Regions from separate parts of the Homo sapiens genome. Here all the other regions are linked to region 3. The links are contacts of gene promoters, found by promoter capture Hi-C in human tissues and cell types (Jung and others, 2019). All regions are on one chromosome and are shown on one strand. The core of a region is centred on a gene start or on the middle of the fragment in contact, and the rest is flanking DNA. Distances in the headings are between cores, read along the strand shown. Region 1 overlaps FLYWCH1 (FLYWCH-type zinc finger 1). Region 2 overlaps SRRM2 (serine/arginine repetitive matrix 2). Region 3 holds the start of PRSS22 (serine protease 22).

What was found. Contacts are between HindIII fragments. The study calls those that stand out against the background at their distance.
Region 1: a fragment that was not itself captured here is called in contact with the fragment with the promoter of PRSS22 in region 3 in 2 of the 25 tissues and cell types used here (small bowel and spleen).
Region 2: a fragment that was not itself captured here is called in contact with the fragment with the promoter of PRSS22 in region 3 in 3 of the 25 tissues and cell types used here (dorsolateral prefrontal cortex, lymphoblastoid cells and mesenchymal stem cells).

The regions. Positions count from the first base shown.
Region 1 is chr16:2,940,156-2,942,855 of GRCh38, forward strand. All of the region lies in intron 9 of FLYWCH1 (FLYWCH-type zinc finger 1), which reads left to right. All of the region lies in intron 3 of FLYWCH1-AS1 (FLYWCH1 antisense RNA 1), which reads right to left. Among named protein-coding and RNA genes, the nearest start is that of FLYWCH1-AS1, 15 kb to the right of the region's middle. The HindIII fragment of the contact is 8,887 bases long and covers 1-2,700 here.
Region 2 is chr16:2,759,686-2,762,385 of GRCh38, forward strand. It overlaps SRRM2 (serine/arginine repetitive matrix 2), which reads left to right. Exons shown (of 15, transcript NM_016333.4): 10 at 616-814; 11 at 1,876-2,700. Among named protein-coding and RNA genes, the nearest start is that of SRRM2, 8.4 kb to the left of the region's middle. The HindIII fragment of the contact is 5,652 bases long and covers 1-2,700 here.
Region 3 is chr16:2,856,905-2,859,604 of GRCh38, forward strand. It overlaps PRSS22 (serine protease 22), which reads right to left and starts at 1,266. Exons shown (of 6, transcript NM_022119.4): 1 at 1,119-1,266. The coding sequence starts at 1,200. RefSeq lists enhancers at 651-1,251, 1,252-1,852, 1,853-2,452. The HindIII fragment of the contact is 21,792 bases long and covers 1-2,700 here.

The DNA.
Region 1 (2,700 bases), core at 13-2,512, 83 kb after region 3:
AACAAATATTTGCTGTCTCAGCTTTTGTGGGTCAACATTATGGGAGTGGTTGGGCTGGGTGGTTCTGACTCCTGAGGTTGAAGAGAATTTGTCAGCCAGGGTGGCAGTCATCTGAAGGCCCAAGTGAGGCTGGAGGCCCTGCTCCTCACCATAGGGACCCCTCCTTGGGCCCACTTGAGCATCCTTCACATGACAGCCATGGGACAGAGAGAGAACAAGAGGGAAGCTGCCAGCAGCAGAATTCAGGTTCTTCTCAACCACAGCCAGGCCATAAAGCAAGAGTCCATTATTTTATTTTTTGAGATGGAGTCTGTGTGTGGCCCAGGCTGGAGTACAGCGGCATGATCTCAGCTCACTGCAAACTCTACCTTCCGGGTTCAAGCAATTCTCCTGTCTCAGCCCCCTGAGTAGCTGGGATTACAGGCATGTACCACCACACCGAGCTGATTTTTGTATTTGCAGTAGAGATAGGGTTTTATCATGGTGGCCAGGCTGAGTCTCAAACTTCTGACCTCAAATGATCCTCCTGTCTCGGGTCTCCCGAGTGCTGGGATTACAGGCAAGAGCCACTGTGCCCAGCCTTGTTATTGGTTTGTAATTACATCCCACTATGGTCAAAGAACATACTTTGTATCATTTCAGTCCTTTCACGGCTGGATACAGTGGCTCATACCTGTAATTCCAGCACTTTGGGAGGCCAAGGCAGGCAGATCATTTGTAATTCCAGCACTTTGGGAGGCCAAGGCAGGCAGATCATTTGAGGTCAGGAGTTCGAGACCAGCCTGGCCAACATGGTGAAACCCCATCTCTACTAAAAATACAAAAATTAGTCAGGCATGGTGGTACATGCATGTAATCCAAGCTATTCGGGAGGCAGAGGTTGCAGTGAGCCAAGATTGTGCCACTGCACTCCAGCCTAGGTGACAAACAAAAACCAAATCAAAAACAGAGAAATTTGGGAAACTCAGAAATACGTAGAAATTAAAGAACACACTTATAAGAAACCAGTGAGTCAGACTGGGCATGGTGGCTCACGCCTGTAATCTCAACACTCTGGGAGGCAGAGGCAGGAGGATCACTTGAGCCCAGGAGTTTGAAACCAGTTGGGGCAACAGAGCATGACCCTGTGTGTAATTTAAAACAAACAAAACAATGAGCCAAAGAAGATAATTATAAAATACTTTGAAATAAAACTTATGGGATGCACTGAAAGCCGTGCTTAGAGGGAAATCTATAGCTAAAAACACTTCTATTAAAAAGGAAGAAGCCTGGGCAACATGGTGAGACCTCGTCTCTGCCAAAAACTCAGCCAGTCATGGTAGCATGTGCTGGTAGTATCGCTTGAACCTGGGAGATTGAGGCTGCAGTGAAGCATGATTGTACCACTGCACTCCAGCCTGGGAGACAGAGCAAGATCCCATCTCTAAATGAATAAACAGGGCCAAGCATGGTGGCTCACACCTGTAATCCTAGCATTTTGGGTGGCTAGGGTGGGAGGATCGCTTGAGCCCAGGAGTTCCATACTAGCATGGGCAAGACCTCATCTCCACAAAAAATAGAAAAACTAAAAAAAAAAGAACTAAAAGTCTGGGCGTGGTGGCTCACACCTGTAATCCCAGCACACTGGGAGACCGAGGGAGGTAGATCACGAGACCACGGGTTCAAGACCAGCCTGACCAACATGGTGAAACCCCATCTCTACTAAAGATAGAAAAATTAGCCAGGCGTGGTGGTGGGAGCCTGTAGCAGGAGAATTGCTTGAACCCAGGAGGTGGAGGTTGCAGTGAGTCGAGATTGCGCCACTGCACTCCAGCCTGGGCGACAGAGCAAGACTCATCTCAAAAAAAAAAAAAAAAAAAAAAAAAAAACTGAAGCAGAAGGAAGGAAATAAATAATAAATGAAACCAAAAGTTGGTTCTGTATAAGGATCAATAAAATTGACAAATATTTAGCTCTATCTACAGATCAAAAAAATTGAAAAGCAAGAATACTGAAAATACTAAAATCAGGAATAAAGATGAGACCTTACTATGGACCTCATTCTGGCAGAGTCTCATTCTGACACCCAGGCTGGAGTGCAGTGGTGCCATCTCAGCTCACTTGAACCTCACCCTCCTGAGTAGCTGGGACTACATGCACGCACCACCACGCCTGGCTAATTTTTCTATTTTTAGTAGAAACGGGGTTTTCCCATGTTGTCCAGGCTGGTCTCCAACTCCTGGGCTCAATCAGTCCACCTGCCTTGGCCTCCCAAAGTGCTGGCATTACAAGCATGAGCCGCAATGCTTGGCCCCAGCTCATTCTCTAAGACCAGTATCACCCTGATATCAAAACCAAGCAAAGGAATCACAAAGAGAAAACTACAGACCAGTATTTCTTAGGAACGTAGAATACCAGCAAACAGAATCCAGCAACATAAAAAAGGATTATATACCATGACCAAGTAAGATTTATCCCAGGAATGCATCAACATGCAAAACCAATTAATGTAACACAGCAGGCCTGAGACTGCTGCCCTAAGAACAGCCTGTGTGCAAGGTTCACCCTTGGCTGGCATCTGGGAACTTTTTTTTTTTTTTTTTTTTTTTTGAGACGGAGTCTCACTCTGTCGCCCAGGCTGGAGTGCAGTGGTGTGATCTTGGCTCACTGCAAGATCACTGTGAGTGATCCCAGGTAGCTGGGATTAGAAGTGCGCACCAC
Region 2 (2,700 bases), core at 57-2,556, 97 kb before region 3:
GAGGGAGAGGGAATGATGGGTTAATTAATTTAATATTTATTGAGCGCCCACGGTGTGCTAGGCGCTGCACAGACCATTCGGAAGACACGGTCCCTGCCCTCTAGGAGCTGACAGGCTAAAGCAACAGGATGGACAGACATATACATTTCCCCTTCTCTTTTTTTTTTTGTTTTTGTTTATTTGTTATTTTTGTTTCGTTCTGATGTATATGGACTGCCAGAATAGGGGGGGTGGTGGTTTGTTCGTGGTGTCTGGGGGAGGAAGGAATCCTTACCCTGGCTTCCTTAATCGGGGAAGGCTTCCTGAAGGAGGTGGGCTCAGAGGTGAGTTGTGAATGAAGCGGGTAGGGAGTGGGCTGGGTGGATGGTTTGGGGATGTTTGGGGGAGGTGAGTAAAGGGGTAGAGGGAGAACGCTCTTTGGGATTGTGTTGGGAAAAGAAGAACCAAAGTGGACTGTACTTGCATTTCAGTGAATGATTTGAGTTGTGCGACTAAAGGCTTTTTGGAAGAGGGTTGTCCAGTTAGGAAAGGTGGATGGGAGTTGGGGAGGGGGTTTTCTGTTCTCCCTTTGAGCTGATTTCCTTCCTCTCCCACGTCCTCAATTAACTCCTGCAGGTCTCGAAGTGCTGCAGCTAAAACTCATACAACTGCCTTGGCTGGGCGAAGTCCTTCCCCTGCTTCAGGGCGACGCGGGGAGGGAGATGCGCCTTTCAGTGAACCAGGTACTACCAGCACACAACGGCCTAGTAGCCCGGAGACTGCTACGAAACAGCCTAGCAGCCCTTATGAAGACAAAGATAAAGACAAGAAGGAGGTATGTTCCTGAGTTGGTGATGTTCATTGGATTGCAAATGTATAGATTTAGGATAGACATGTGATGTGAAAGGGAGAGGTAATAACTTATTAAAATAAATAAATTCAGTTTTTTTTCCTGCATTTCTCTCCTAGTTCTCTTACTGCATCTGCAGAACTTTTAGTGTTGTTACTAGACTGAATTGTGAACCCTTTAGAATCAAATCTCACTGGATGTTAGGTTTTATATTGTGTCTTGTTTATACATAGATAGAACTGGAACAAACGTTGTATCTTATCTGTGTACTCCGTATGATGCCTCTAGTTTCTTCTCTTTTTTCATTAAATGCTGGTCATGTCTCACCAAAACTTTTTAATCCATTGCGTTGCCACCAATAGTTTGAATGAAACACTGAAATAGTCTTCAGTAGTCTTCTGTTCCAATTTTAAGCATTAATCATTTCCTCTTGCTTTAGTGATTACAGTCTGAATTCTTGGCCTCTATCATCAATTTTCCATGTCATCCAGGGTTACCTTTCCAAATTACAAGTTGGTTGACCTCAGAAACTTAACTACTTCCTTATTGCTTTTGAATTATATTTAAGGCTTTTAATAGTCTGGTCTTTTTCTCATTTCCTGTACTCTACCCATCCTGGGCTGCTTTTTTACTCTTCACACAAATCATGTTCTCACATCTTTATTCATGCTGTTTCTTTTCGTTTAATAGAGTTATTCTTCAAAGGTGAAGTTGCCATTCGCTTTAGGAAACTGCTTATTTTTCCATTTAAAGATAGTTTTTTTCCATTCTTATAACATTTTGTAGTGGTATTTGTTAAATGTAGTAGTGCATTAGTTATTTGCATTTTGTGTTTCTTTTAGTTTTAAGATTCTGGCTATCCATATATTCATATGTTTTCACCACTGTGCTTTATATGATTCCTTGTTATTGAATGAAAGTGATCGCTTGTGGTCAGAGGGTGTGTAAAAGAAAAGTTATCATTGGAAAGGGTGTTGGGATCTTAGGGGTGATGTGAAGTTTTGGCGTTTATGAATCCCTATCCCTGCTCTCTCTTCCACTCTTAGAAATCTGCAACTCGACCTAGCCCCTCTCCGGAAAGGAGCAGCACAGGCCCAGAACCACCTGCTCCCACTCCGCTCCTTGCTGAGCGACATGGCGGCTCCCCACAACCCCTTGCAACCACCCCCTTAAGCCAGGAGCCAGTGAACCCCCCATCTGAGGCCTCTCCAACTCGGGACCGTTCACCACCTAAGTCTCCCGAGAAACTTCCCCAGTCTTCTTCCTCAGAGAGCAGCCCACCATCCCCTCAACCTACCAAAGTTTCTCGGCATGCCAGCTCTTCCCCAGAAAGTCCTAAACCTGCTCCAGCTCCAGGGTCCCACCGAGAGATTTCTTCTTCTCCCACATCTAAGAATCGCTCACATGGCCGAGCAAAACGGGATAAATCACATTCTCATACCCCCTCCCGTAGGATGGGGAGGTCCCGTAGCCCTGCCACCGCTAAGAGAGGGCGATCTCGGTCTCGAACCCCTACCAAGAGAGGTCATTCTCGATCCCGATCTCCCCAGTGGCGTAGGTCCAGGTCTGCACAGAGGTGGGGAAGATCTAGAAGCCCCCAGCGACGTGGCCGCTCTAGGTCTCCTCAGCGACCAGGCTGGTCTAGGAGCAGAAATACCCAGAGAAGAGGCAGGTCTAGGTCAGCAAGGCGAGGGAGGTCCCACTCTAGATCCCCAGCCACTAGGGGTAGATCTCGTTCTAGAACACCAGCCCGCCGGGGCAGGTCCCGCTCTAGAACACCTGCCAGGCGGAGATCACGATCCAGAACTCCCACCAGGCGTAGGTCTCGGTCTAGAACACCAGCCCGGAGGGGCAGGTCTCGGTCTAGAACA
Region 3 (2,700 bases), core at 16-2,515:
GAGGGGCCCTCAACGCCCAGTGAGGAAGGCCCCCAACACCCAGTAAGAAGGGATCCCAGTGCCCAGTGAGGTGGAGGTCCCAGCACCCAGTGAGGAGGGTCCCTCAGCGCCCAGTGAGGAGGGGTCCCAGCACCCCCTGAGGAGGGTCCCTCAGCGCCCAGTGAGGAGGGGTCCCAGTACCCAGTGAGGAGGGTCCCTCAGCGCCCAGCGAGAAGCCCCCAGCACCCAGTGAGAAGGGGTCCAGTGCCCAGTGGGAAGGGGTCCCAGCACCCAGTGAGGAGGGGTCCCCAGCGCCCAGTGAGGAGGGCTCCCCAGCGCCTAGTGAGGAGGGTTCCCCAGCGCCCAGTGAGGAGGGGTCCCCAGCGCCCAGTGAGGAGGGCTCCCCAGCGCCCAGTGAGGAGGGGTCCCCAGCGCCCAGTGACGAGGGGGTCCCAGCGCTCAGTGAGGAGGGGGTCCCAGCGCCCAGTGAGGAGGGGTCCCAGCGCCCAGTGAGCAGGCGTCCCAGCGCCCAGTGAGGAGGGGGTCCCCTTGAGTACCTGGTGGTGAGGAACCTCTAGCCCTCCAGTGCCCAGGGAGACTCTCAAGTCTCTCAACCCCAGGGCCCCTACCGGCGGGGCATTTCCTGGGGCCTGGCCAGGCCCTGGCTGCACAGCTGTGACCCTGCCCTCCCGCAGCTTCCCGTCCAGCCTGCCTTCCGGGGACCAGGACCGGCTCCTCGAGGGAGGCACAGACCTGAGCCCCTCGGCTCTGGACGCTGCTGCCGCTGGTGTGCCCTCCCCTGACCTCCTGCGGCAGGAACAACACAAAACGGTGCTTCCCCAGAGGCAAGCAGCGGAGGACGAGGAGATGGGAGAACACGGAGGCGAGAGGGAGCAGGCGATGGCGACGCCGACGGTAACTGGAGACCGAGGCGCGCTGCGTACTTGCTGCGTTTTCTGTTTCATCCTCACAGCCGTAGAAGAAACCGAGGCACAGAGCAGTTAAGGAGCAAGAGATAAACAGAGCAGAAGCGGAAAGGAGATGAGAGAGGCAAGGCCAGGAGGGAGAGAGGGAGGGAGGGAAGGAGGGAAGGAGGGTGGAGGTGAGAGGGAGGAGGGAGGAGCAGCCTCCGGACGTACCTGTCGACGCCAGCAGCAGCAGGGAGGTGAAGGTGCCGAGACAGCCCCCACCCAGGGCTGGGGGCGCTCCAGAAACCACCATGGCTGGTGGGGCGGGGGAGCAGGCAGCAGGCTCGAGAGACCCAGGGCGATGCGGGTCAGGGTGTGTAGGTTCCCTGCAGGTCGCCCCAGGTTTTATCCTGGGAGGCGGAATGCCGTCAGACCAGTCCCCAGGTGGCTCCCGCGGCCACCCCGGCTGTGGGTCCTGGGCAGAGGGCGGGGCTGCGGGGAGGAAGCCAGCCGCTACAGGGCTCTGGGGGGGCTCTAGCTGAGACCCCAGGATGTGGCCTCTGGAAGGGCAGGGGAGGGGGCTTGGGCCCAGAGGTCCCTGACATTAATTGTCCAGGGGCAGAGAAAGGTGCCAGGGCACTGAAAGGAAGGGGTTCCGGGCTGGGGAGGGCCTGGGTTTGGAGAGGCTGAAGTCTGGGGTACTGGGTGTTGGGGGTGGTCCTAGGGCCTTAGGGATCAAGGGGGTGCCCAAAGCTCAGTAACGGCTCCCACCTGCAGGGCCCCAGGCCCCTGTGACTCAGCCCAGAGACCTGGCGCAACCCGGGCTTGGGAATCCCGTTAACCCACTTCCCGAAAGCTGTGAATCAGGTGAGTGGCGACCTTGGTGGCCTCCTGGTGGCCGCCCTCCTGTCGTTCCTGGAGGCGGGGCTCTGCCCTGCGGTTCAGACACCTGACAACTCACCTCACCTGGACTCCTGGGAAGGGGAGGAGCCCATGGGCACCAGGGCTCGGCCAAGCAGGGGGGTTGAGAGAAGAGGGGCCCCGGGAAGGGCTGGGACTCCCAGGATTCAAAGAGCTGCTGGGCTGGGCTGTGGGGGGCCGGGTCCTGGGCTGGGAGTGGATTCTCGGTGCTTCCCCCCAGCGGCTGCCACAGTGGCAACCCGGGGCTGAATCCTGTGAGACCTTCCCTGACTCAGTGCCCTGCAGCGCCCCACACTTGGGACACTCCCACCCAAGCAGGGCAGGCTTCCTCCTCTACAAAGAGGCAGGAGCCTGCGCCCCTTCACTCATTCGATCAACAAGCCTCCAGCAGGGCCCTTGCTACCGCCGGGGGTGAATTAAAAACAACCATAGTGTCTGGGTGGGGTGGCTTATTCCTGTAATCCCAGCACTTTGGGAGGCCAAGACGGACAGATCATGAGGTCAGGAGTTCAATACCAGTCTGGCCAACATAGTAAAACCCCGTCTCTACTAAAAATACAAAAAAAAAAAAATTAGCCAGGCATGGTGGCAGGCGCCCTTAGTCCCATCTACTTGGGAGGCTGAGGCAGGAGAATCGCTTGAACCTGGGAGGCGGAGGTTGCAGTGAGCTGAGATCACGCCACTGCACTCCAGCCTGGGCGACAGAGCGAGACTCTGTTTCAAAAAAAAAAAAAAAAAACCATAGTAGTGAATATGTATGTAATAAATATATTTATACAAATATAAATATAGTATTTATATAATAGAGCAAACATTTAGGAGTGCCATGCATTGCCTCCTAATCCTCAAATGTCTTTATTATTCCCACTCTGCAGATAAGGAAACTGAGGCA